Linked DNA regions of Homo sapiens: region 1 is linked to region 2. The links are contacts of gene promoters, found by promoter capture Hi-C in blood cells and fetal thymus (Javierre and others, 2016). All regions are on one chromosome and are shown on one strand. The core of a region is centred on a gene start or on the middle of the fragment in contact, and the rest is flanking DNA. Distances in the headings are between cores, read along the strand shown.

What was found. The method cuts DNA at HindIII sites, captures the fragments that hold promoters and counts their contacts. A CHiCAGO score of 5 or more calls a contact.
Region 1: a fragment that was not itself captured here is called in contact with the fragment with the promoter of BTN2A2 in region 2 in 1 of 17 cell types (neutrophils); the score reaches 5.0 in neutrophils.

The regions. Positions count from the first base shown.
Region 1 is chr6:26,644,372-26,649,898 of GRCh38, forward strand. All of the region lies in intron 2 of ZNF322 (zinc finger protein 322), which reads right to left. Among named protein-coding and RNA genes, the nearest start is that of ZNF322, 13 kb to the right of the region's middle. The HindIII fragment of the contact is 2,310 bases long and covers 2,214-4,523 here.
Region 2 is chr6:26,381,677-26,387,228 of GRCh38, forward strand. It overlaps BTN2A2 (butyrophilin subfamily 2 member A2), which reads left to right and starts at 1,432. Exons shown (of 8, transcript NM_006995.5): 1 at 1,432-1,505; 2 at 2,116-2,239; 3 at 3,339-3,686. The coding sequence starts at 2,146. RefSeq lists a silencer at 1,281-1,370. The HindIII fragment of the contact is 7,335 bases long and covers 1-5,552 here.

The sequences.
Region 1 (5,527 bases), core at 2,119-4,618, 260 kb after region 2:
ATGGAACTACTTGGACCCAGGCAACATATAGGGCCATACAGCTGAGGCTCTCTATGACACTTAGCTTATAGCTGCTAGTATTAAAATGACATGTTTTATGGCTCTAGTTCCAGGTAAGATGGAGTAAATACATGTCACAGATGTCATCCCATTGAATCCAACTATGAAGTCTGGACAGAATGTATGGCCCAGTTATTTGACAACTCCAAAAAGCACATAGCATGCAAGTCAGGAAAGAGCAGAATTTTAAATGCCATTCAACCAGCAGTGATTTTATTTCTTTTTTTTCCCCCTTTTGGTCCTCTTCAGTATGGGGCCTAAGCTCGGTGTAGCCCTAAATATAGAAGTGAGGGAAGTTGTAAAACGTAATTGTCAACTGAGACTTCTCAGAAAACCTGTAAGTTTTCACACCATTTATTTATTTATCTATTTATTTATTTATTTTTATTTTAAGTTCCAGGGTACCTGTGCGGGATGTGCAGTTTTGTTACATAGGTAAATGTGTGCCTATGTAAACATGTGCTATACCTATCAACCCATCACCTAGTTATTAAGCCCACCATGCATTAGCTATTTTTCCTGATGTTCTCCCTCCCCCCGCACCTTGCTACAGTCCCAGTGTGTGTTGTTCCCCTCCCTGTGTCTAACTGTTCACATTGTTCAGCTCCCACTTATAAGTGAGAACATGCGGTGTTTGCACACCAATTATTTAAAATTGGCCATGGAAGTCAGTGGACAGAAAACTGACTTAAATATGAAAAAAAAAAGGAAAATATCTCTAGAGGAAATATAAAGAATGTGGTAATAAAACACAGTCAGAGGGGATAACAGTGGCTACAGAAATCCAAATCTCTCAACACATCCTTTAAAAGCAGTAAGAATAAGAAGAACAAATGTACTATACAAAGCCCACACTGTCACCAAATCCCATATAGCTGTCTCTCACATTCTAGCCATAAGCTATCAAGGAGAGCAAGGACAATCTGAGAATGAGAGGTAAAGAGAAGAGAGCTAGCAGTGGGCAAGACTGACCTAAAATTCATTGCCAGAAAGAAAAACCCACTCTAAGTACAAAAAACTTTATCACAGTAAGTATGTATAGAAAAAAAAAAGCCATTTAGGGTTCAATACTATCTGCAGTTTCTGGTATACACTGGGAGTCTTGGACCATATCCCCCACAAATAAGGTGGGATTACTATATTGTATTTATGGCAGGTGAGAATTAAAGTACACTATTAAACTAAAAAACCATCTGAAGCTGAAATGGCCTTTTAGAAAAGAAAAATTTTAGAAACCCTTAAAAACCAAATAATTAAAGGTTAAATATAAAAATTTATTTTTTTAATGAACTAAAGGCATTAAAAAAGATCTAAGTATGGTCAGGTGCGGTGGCTCACGCCTGTAATCCCCGCACTTTGGGAGACCGAGGCAGGCGGATCATATGAGGTCGGGAGTTCGAGACCAGCCTGACCAACATGGAGAAACCCTGTCTCTACTAAAAATACAAAATTAGCCGGGTGTGGTGGCACATCCCTGTAATCCCAGCTACTTGGGAGGCTGAGGCAGGAGAATCACTTGAACCCAGGAGGTGGAGGTTGCGGTGAGCCAAGATCAGGCCATTGCACTCCAGCCTGGGCAACAACAGCGAAACTCCGCCTCAAAATAAATAAATAAATAAATAAATAAATAAATAAATAAATAAATCTAAGTACAAAAGTAGCTAATATAACAAAAATCAAACATTCAAAACAGAAAGTCATGAAAGAGCTATGAAAACCTATCGTAGAAAAAAAAGTAACAAAATACAGTTATAACAATATGACATTGTTAAAACCAAACATCAACTATATCAATAAATATAAATGAGCTTAACACACCTATTAAAAGAAAGAGATTTTCATTTTGGCTCACAAGCAAGACCTAACTATATGCTAAATACAAGAGACACCTAAAGCAAAGTGATTCAGGCAGGCTAAAAATAAGGAGGTGGGAAAAGGAACACTAGGCAAACAGAAACAATAAAAGTAGGGCTTTTGATCCTGATATCAGGCAAAGTAGAGTTCAAGCCAAAAGAATTAAACATAATAATACTTTCTAAATTACACTAAAGTCATGGTTATCTATGTATCACATTACACAGCAGGCACATTTACAAAGGAAAAACAGAGAAACAGATACAAAGAAACAGAGATAAAAATATTAATAATAGGAAAGCTTAATATACCACTCTCAATAAAAGACATACAAACTGGACCAAGAAGTAATGATGCAGAAGGCCTAAATAACCTAATTAATAAGTAAATCTTATTTATATTAAACCGTATGTCCTGATAAGTACACATTCTTTTTAAGAACACATGAATCATCCACAAAAATCTGTCATATATTATGTAATAAAGGAAGCATCATTATCGCAAAGAAACATTACAAGAAACAATCTGCAACAAAACTAGAAATTTATTAAAATATCAAGCGACCAAAGGTCCTTTCAAATGGGGGGAAAATAAACTGTTAAAAAACTATTCAGTAAAAGGGGCAATGAAAAAGTTAACAAAATTTTTAAGTATTCATAATTGAAAATATTATATATTACAATCTATGGGATAAATTTAAACCAGTTCATGCCTATATTTCTTTAATCAATAAAAACAGAAGAATTTAAATGAACAAGTTAAATTCTTAGATCAAAAGCTAAGAAAAAAATAAATTTCAATTGAGCCCAGGAGTTCAAGACCAGCCTGGGCAATATTAATGAGACCCAATTTCTATTTTAAATAAATAAGTAGGTATGGTAGCTCATACCTACAATCCCAGTGCTTTGGGAGGCCGAGGCAGTAGGATTGTTTGAACCCAGGAGTTCAAGACCAGCCTGGACAACATAGCAAGATCCTGTCTCTATTTTGTTTTTTAATGGGAAAAAAAATCAAAATAATAACAAAAATAGATAAAAGGAGAAATCAATGAACTAGAGAACAAAAAGACAGTAAATCTAATGATAAATCAAAATCATACTTATTTTGTAAAACTTAAAGAAACAGATAAACCACTAGGTTACTTAATTGAAAAAAAGGAAGAAAGCACACATTTACAAAATAAGAAATGACAAGGAAGAATAACCACCGAAAAGAAAAACACACATACATGAAACCACTTTGCAAATCTCTATATAAATAAATATGATTAACTATAAAATAAGGGTTTCTTTATGAAACACAATTTATTAGAGTTGACTCCATTAAAGATATAAAGTCTTAAAACACCAATTTGCAGAGAATAAATAGAAAAAGTTATAAAGGAACCATTCCATAAAAAGCACTAGGCCCAGATTATTTCACGAAATAATTCTATAAATCTACACAGACCAAATAAATACAATGCTTCATACATATTTTCCAGAGCACCGAAAATGAAGCACAACTTCCTAATTCTTTTTGTGAAATAAGGATAGCACTGGTAACTAAACCTGATGAAGAGAGCATAAAAAAATTTTAATATCCAATATCGCTTTTTTTTTTTTTTTTAAAGAGTCGGGGTCTTGCTCTGATACCCAGGCTGGAGAGCAGTGGCACAATCATAGCCCACTGTAGCCTCAAGCTCCTAGGCTCAAGCAATTCTCCTGGCTCAGCCTCCTGAATAGCTGGGGTATAGGTACACACCACCATGCCTGGCTAACATTTTTTATGAATGTGAGAAATACTAACAAAAATCAATACCACATTAAGAAAATAATATACCATGACCAAGTGGAATTTTTGCAAAATTGGTTCAAAATTAGACTATCTTTCAATATGAGGAAATCCACTAAATATAATACCCCATATGAACAGACCTATGGAGAAAAATAATATATTATCTCCATAGATAGTGAAAGAACCTGCAACAGAAATCAACATCTATTCTGGATAAAAACACTCAAGAAAGTGGAAATTAATAGATATTTCCTTTTAATATGATAAAACATACATTCCTTCATCCAGTACCTTAAGTTAGAAAAACTACAATAATTTTTACTAAGATCAGGAACAAGGCAAGTATGGCCAATACTTCTCTTTTCAATCACTGACCTGGAAGTATTAATCAATGCAATTAGAAAAATCAATTAGAGGTGTGAAAGAAGTAAAACTATCTCTATTTGGAGGTGATTTAATAGTAGAATTAGAAAACCCTACAAAGGACCAATGCTAAAACTAACTCAAATGATAAAGGAATTCAGTATGGTAGCAGGATATAAAATTTGCCACACAGAAACCACCAGTTTTTTACATAAATATAAAGAATAACTAATTGGAACACACAATGATAGAGAACAACCTTTGTATAACAGCAGCAATATAAAACTACTTAGAAATAAATAAAACATAGCCATGCCAAATAAAGCATAGGAAAACTTCTCCCTCCTGAGACCCAAAAATAGACTCGAATAAATGGAAGGACAGCCTTTGTTCTTGCATAGAACAATTCAACATTATGAAGATGTTCCCTCCTAAGATTTATAAACAATGCAATCTCAATAAAAATAACAAGCTTCTTTATGAAACTAGACTAAGGGGTGGCAAACTATGGCCCACAGGCCAATTCTGGCCTGCCACCTGTTTTTTTCAAATAAAATTTTACTGAAATAGGGTCATACTTATTCATTAATGTATTGAAAGGCAGAATTGAGTAGTCACAATAGAGACCAGATAGCCACCAAAGCCTAAATACAATACTTTCTGGCCCTTTAAAGAAAAATCTCCAATGCCTAAGCTGTACAGTTGCTACTCAAGTTCACTTTGAAAAGACCAACAAGGACAGCCATGAAGCAATGAAAAGACAGACTATGAAGGGTAACTAAACCCATGAGACATTAAAATAAACTTTAAAGCTTCTAATATTAAAACAACAGAGTTCCAAAACACAATTAGATAAAGGGACAAATAGAAAAGGAAATCCAGAAATAAACACATATAGAAATTTAGTATACAATAAAGATGACATCTCAAATCACCAGGGCAAAAATGGACTTTTTAATAAATGATGGTAAAACATCAAGGTAGCCACATGAAAATAGGTACAATTTGGTCTACACTTCATACCACACACCAATATAAACTCCCAATTGGTTAGGGTTCTAAATGTATACATGGAAATGATAAGATACTACAAGAAAACTAAAGTAAATTCTACATTAATCTTAGGGTACCAAAAATTTTCTATCTGTAAGACTGATCATTTGACTAAAAATAAAAACTTTTTTTAAAGTTTTCTTTTATATATACATACATATGTGTGTGTGTGTGTGTGTGTGTGTGTGTGTGTGTGTGTATATATATATATATATATATATATATTTTTTTTTTTTTTTTTTTGAGACTGAGTTTCGCTCTTGTTGCCCAGACTGGAGTGCAATGGCGTGATCTTGGCTCACCACAACCTCTGCCTCCTGAGTTCAAGTGATTCTCCTGCCTCAGCCTCCTGAGTAGCTGGGATTGCAGGCATGCACCACCATGCCTGGCTAATTCTGTATTTTTAGTAGAGACGGGGTCT
Region 2 (5,552 bases), core at 182-2,681:
TTATTTATTTATTTATTTTGAGGCAGGGTCTCACTTTGTCACCCAGGCTGGAGTGCAGTGGCATGATCTCAGCTCACCCTAACCTCCACCTCCCAGGTTCAAGCCATTCTCCTGCCTCAGCCTCCTGAGTAGCTGGGATTACAGGCATGTGCCACCACACCCAGCTAATTTTTTTTTTTTTTTTTTTTTTGGTAGAGACGGGGTTTCATCATGTTGGCCATGCTGGTCTTGAACTCCTGACTTCAAGTGATCTGCCTGCCTCCTCCTCCCAAAGTGTTGGGATTACAGGTGTGAGCCACTGCACCAGTTCCAGACTAAGTATTTAGACATTTGAGGGGATTATTGACAACTGGGCCTTGGGAAGATTATTCTGGAAGATATCTATACAATGACAAGATTGGATTCTGTGGGGGAGGGATTATGTTCATGGGGAGGAGGTTATGTGTGCTGGTGTGTGTGTGTGGTCCTTGGACTTAACCCCACCACCTACTGGCAGAAGGTCAAGGTCAACTGAAAGTCTTTGCTCACTTCCATCTTCTGCCTCCACCAGAATACCACCTCCCCGTGGGAAAGGGTTTTTAATCCTCACTCAGTATTCTCAGCACGTCTTATCCAATAGCTTTGGAGTGAACAACAAGACCTTCATAACAGCCACTGCAACTGCTGTCACCTTTCCTTTGCTACCCCTCCCACTCCAGCCATGCCTGCTTCCCCCAAGGCCTCCCGCGCACCAGGCCCAACCTTCAAAGCCAGCAACATGAACAAGAGTCCTCTGGCTTTGGAAAGACGGCGGCTTATGTTTTCCTCCTCATGTTTCCTCCCCAGCAAAATCACTCTACATAGAGAGCCCTCTCCTCGTCTACACCAGCAAAGCCACTGACACCTTGGGGATCTCAAGGCTTTGTAAAAGAACGGAAGGAAAGAAAGAAAGAGAGAGAGAGAGAAGGAAAGAAAGAAAGAAAGAAAGAAAGAAAGAAAGAAAGAAAGAAAGAAAGAAAGAAAGAAAGAAAGAGAAAGAAAGAAAGGAAGGAGAAGAGAAGGAAGAGAAAGAGAGAAAGGAAGAGAGAGGAAGGAAGGAAGGAAGAAAAAAGAAAGAAAGCGAGAAAGAAAGAAAGAATAAAGTGAGAGAGAGACATATGAAAGAAAGAAAGAAAGAAAAAGAGAATGAGAAAGGAAAGAAGGAAGCAAGGAAGGAAGGAAGAAAGGAAGGAAGAAAGGAAAATAAAGGAAAAAAGTCTTGCTTCCAAAGACAGAAAAAGGAAATAGAAATACCTAATAATCCCAAAAGGTTATTTGCTGCTTGAGATTTTTGGGGGGTTTTTGTGTGTGTATTCTACCTAGTAACAGCTGAGAAATAAGGCTCGAGACACCATTGGTTGGTTCAGCCTCACTCGGCCAATCCTGGGCTCTAAACTGCTCAGTGGAAATCTTGGGACTTTTTGGACACCCAGAGAACAGGTCCCAGATACCGAGTCCGCAACTCCAAACATCGCGATTAATAGGAGGTGAACACAGCTTTTCTCTTCTCTTTGGGATGCTTTGTTGTCTGGTGGTGACTGTGCCCATGGGTGAGTTGTATCGGAAAATCGTCATGTGAGGATCAGAGGGGAAAAGAAAACAGAGGTTAGTTCTAGAAGGTAGGAAAGGGAGAGGAGGCGCTACAGCTCCGGGGTGGGGGCGGTAGCTGGGGGCGGTAGGTGCGGGGAGCGGGATCTGCTCTGGAGAGGAGAGGGGGACCTGGGAGACAGGAAGCCTACTGGTGGGGAGGCGCAGCCTCGCCTGGCTTTACCTCGAGTGTCCCGACCTGGGTCTCGGGGAGGGGGAAGTGGAGGGACGAGGGTGTGAAAGAATCCAGGGACAACTGAAGAAACCGGACTGTGGCCCGAGAAGTGGGAAGAGGAAGGAGGAAAACGGCCCCCTTGATCTCTGCATTGATGGCTTACTTATGGAATGTTTACGGAATCCCTCTTTCGGAGATACCTGAGCCTTGAGATGCAAGCGACTCCCAGAAGTTGGGGCACCGATGAGACCTACTTGAGTGACAGGAGAGGTTGGGCCCGACCAGCACTGAGGTGCCAAGACTCCTAGGCTGATTCTCCTCCTCTGTAACCCTAGGCCTCTGGTCTCTGCCTGCCCTGGGTGCTCATGGAACCAGCTGCTGCTCTGCACTTCTCCCTGCCAGCCTCCCTCCTCCTCCTCCTGCTCCTCCTCCTTCTCAGCCTGTGTGCACTGGTCTCAGGTAGGGATGTGTGTCACTTGCTGCTGTCACCTCTCAGAAAGGAACATCAACCCTGTAGTCTGCAAAGGGAAAGAAGGAAGAACTGTGGGGTTGTTGACTTATCCTTTCATTCTGAACATGTTCACTGAATTTATACCAGCACTGTCCAAAAGAAACACAGTGAAGCACAAAGGTCAAGTGCATATACAAGTGCAAATCTTCAAAAAGATTTTTTTAACTTTTTATTTATTTGTTTATTTATTTAAGAGAGAGTATATTGCTCTGTTGCCAGGCCGGAATGAAGCAGATGGAGAATGAGATCATAACTCACTGTAACCTGAAACTCCTGGGCTCAAGGGATCCTCCCATCTCAGCCTCCCAAGTAGCTGAGAGTACAAGCAAGGGCCACCACACTCGACTAAGTTTTATTTTTTGTAGAGACAGGGTCTCACTATTTTGCCCAGGCTGGTCTCAAACTCCTAGCTGTTAAGGATCCTCCCACTTTGGCCTCCCAAATATCTGCAATTACAGGCGCAAGACCCTGTGCCTATTCTACTTTTTATTTTAAAAGGTAAAAACATACTTGAAATAAATTTTAATAATGTATTTTGTTTCATATAAATAATCACATATCAATATTTAAATGCTTAGTTAATAGAACTATTACCAATGAGATATTTGACATTTTGAAATTTTAAATCTTTATAATCTGTGTGTGTTTTACACTTAGAGTTCATTTTTATTGGAACTGTTAAATAGCTAGTGGATAGATACCCTAATGGACAGTTCAAGTTTACACTACACTCAGGCACAGTGCTAGATTGCAAAATGGAGGAAAATCTCAGGGGCACAGGGTGCCCAGGGCGGGCTCCCCAATGTTTCCTTCGTGAAGCAGGAGCAGCCTCAATAGTTACTGCTCCCAGGGGTTGGTGCTGCCGACCAGCCACAGCTACTGGTCCCCAGAAGGGTTCTCAGCCCAAGAACCCCTGTAGCCTTGGAATATCTGCTTCCTTTCATCCCTGGAGTTTTTTTTGTTTGTTTGTTTTTGTTTTTTGTTTTTTGTTTTGCCTTAGAGTTGTGATAACTGGCATCCTTGTCTGATTCTGCCCTTGTTGAACAGCCCAGTTTACTGTCGTGGGGCCAGCTAATCCCATCCTGGCCATGGTGGGAGAAAACACTACATTACGCTGCCATCTGTCACCCGAGAAAAATGCTGAGGACATGGAGGTGCGGTGGTTCCGGTCTCAGTTCTCCCCCGCAGTGTTTGTGTATAAGGGTGGGAGAGAGAGAACAGAGGAGCAGATGGAGGAGTACCGGGGAAGAATCACCTTTGTGAGCAAAGACATCAACAGGGGCAGCGTGGCCCTGGTCATACATAACGTCACAGCCCAGGAGAATGGGATCTACCGCTGTTACTTCCAAGAAGGCAGGTCCTACGATGAGGCCATCCTACGCCTCGTGGTGGCAGGTGCATCACTTCATTTTGCTTTATTACTTTTGCACAGTGTGACTTTTGGGGAAAGTTTCTCCCTTAACCTCAGGCCCATTGCAGACCAACGGATTTCTATCTGGCGTCCCCTTTCCACAGAGAAAGTGGCTTCCTCTTGCACAAAGGCCACATGAGTGGGTTTGCCCTGCTAAGCTATAGGTTTCACTTCTTTTTTTTTTTTTTTCAAGACAGAGTCTTGCTATGTTGCCCAGGCTGGAGTGCAGTGGTGCGATCTTGGCTCACTGCAACCTCTGCCTCCTGGGTTCAAGCTATTCTCCTGCCTCAGCCTCCTGAGTAGCTGAGATTACAGGCATACACCACCATGCCCGGCTAATTTTTGCATTTTTTTAGTAGAGACGGGGTTTCACCATGTTGGCAGGCTGGTCTCAAACTCCTGACCTTGTGATCCACCTGCCTCAGTCTCCCAAAGTGCTAGGATTACAGGCGTGCGCCACCACGCCCAGCCTGGGCTTCACTTCTTCAGAAGCACACGCATTCCTCAGCTGAGGCCATGAGCAGGGGAAAATAGTTAATCCCGGAAAAGAAAGTCTTATGCCTGCCTTGGCACTGAACTGTGCACGTCTGAGAGTGAAAGGAGACACTGTCAAAAATTGTCCCGGGGCAATCAGAATCAATAAGAACTGCCCAGAGAACTATGACATGAAATCTTATTTTTCGATAAATATTAATCTTGACATTTTCTTCTTTCCTGAAATACTGATTGCAGAGAGAGTGACTTTTATATAAATAGATGATTTTTATTAAAGCACAACTAAATACAGAAACAAAGTTATCTATAATTCCTGCTAACTCCACAGAGAAAGACTAAGAATTTAGCTGGGAAGAAATTGGCAAGGCTTCAGCATAGAAATGCACTTAAACTGGGATTTCTAATAGTTTGTTAAAAGTGACACTAAGTGATTACCTCAGTGTTGCAGTTAGTGTATTTTGCTTTAAAAGGTATATTTCAGGACTGAAAAAAGCCTTTAAGTTGCAGAATAATTCGTGGTGACATTTCAGTCCATCAGACCAGTGGAGGCAAGGACTAGGAAATTGGGTTCTTCCCAGGGGGCCCCAAATCATAACAGGTAGGAGACCCTATCTTTGCTACTCACAAAGGCAACCTTACATCTGATTAAAACAGAATATCGTGGATGGAGGGCTTCTTGACCCATTGTCATGACTGTGTTCACAGCAGCACTGCAATGTTGCCCAGTAATGAATGGTTGTATGTGGCAGGGACCCACTACTCTTTCTCTGTAAAACCAACCCTGTCCTGGCCTTCCCTAGTCTGAATTGGGTTGCTGTAGGACTTTTTGTTTGCTTGCTTATTGTACTCTGTTTGTTGGATTGGTTGGTGGCTGATTTTTCCCTTAAATCTATTGTGTCATGCTTACCCGTATTGAACCCATGGAATGTTTTGTAGGACTTTGTTTTCCAATTTGCTGAGGTATTTTAATTTCTTTTCTAATTCAGGATTTCTGTGTGAGCCTTCAAATGCACAACTAGCTTTTTTCTCCTGACAAAAATTAAACAGAGCAGAAAGCACTAGGCTTAAGTGATTGCTTTAATTTTCTTTCTTTAACATAATTTGTTGGGAGACTTTACAAAGGAATTATTCAGGAGAAGTTTGGATGATCACGCATGGCTGAAGGGTCTCCCAGGACCATGCTTTTGCAGCTCTCTCACTCTGGGTATTCTCTTTCATTGAAGGTTCTAGTAAAGATAGAATATATTTAGGATGAGCCTGAATTATTAGGATTTTTGGTGATGATCTCTGACATTGAGGAGGCAATATGGTTATCTTAAGGATCCCAGGGGCATCCAGATATTTCTAATACATTG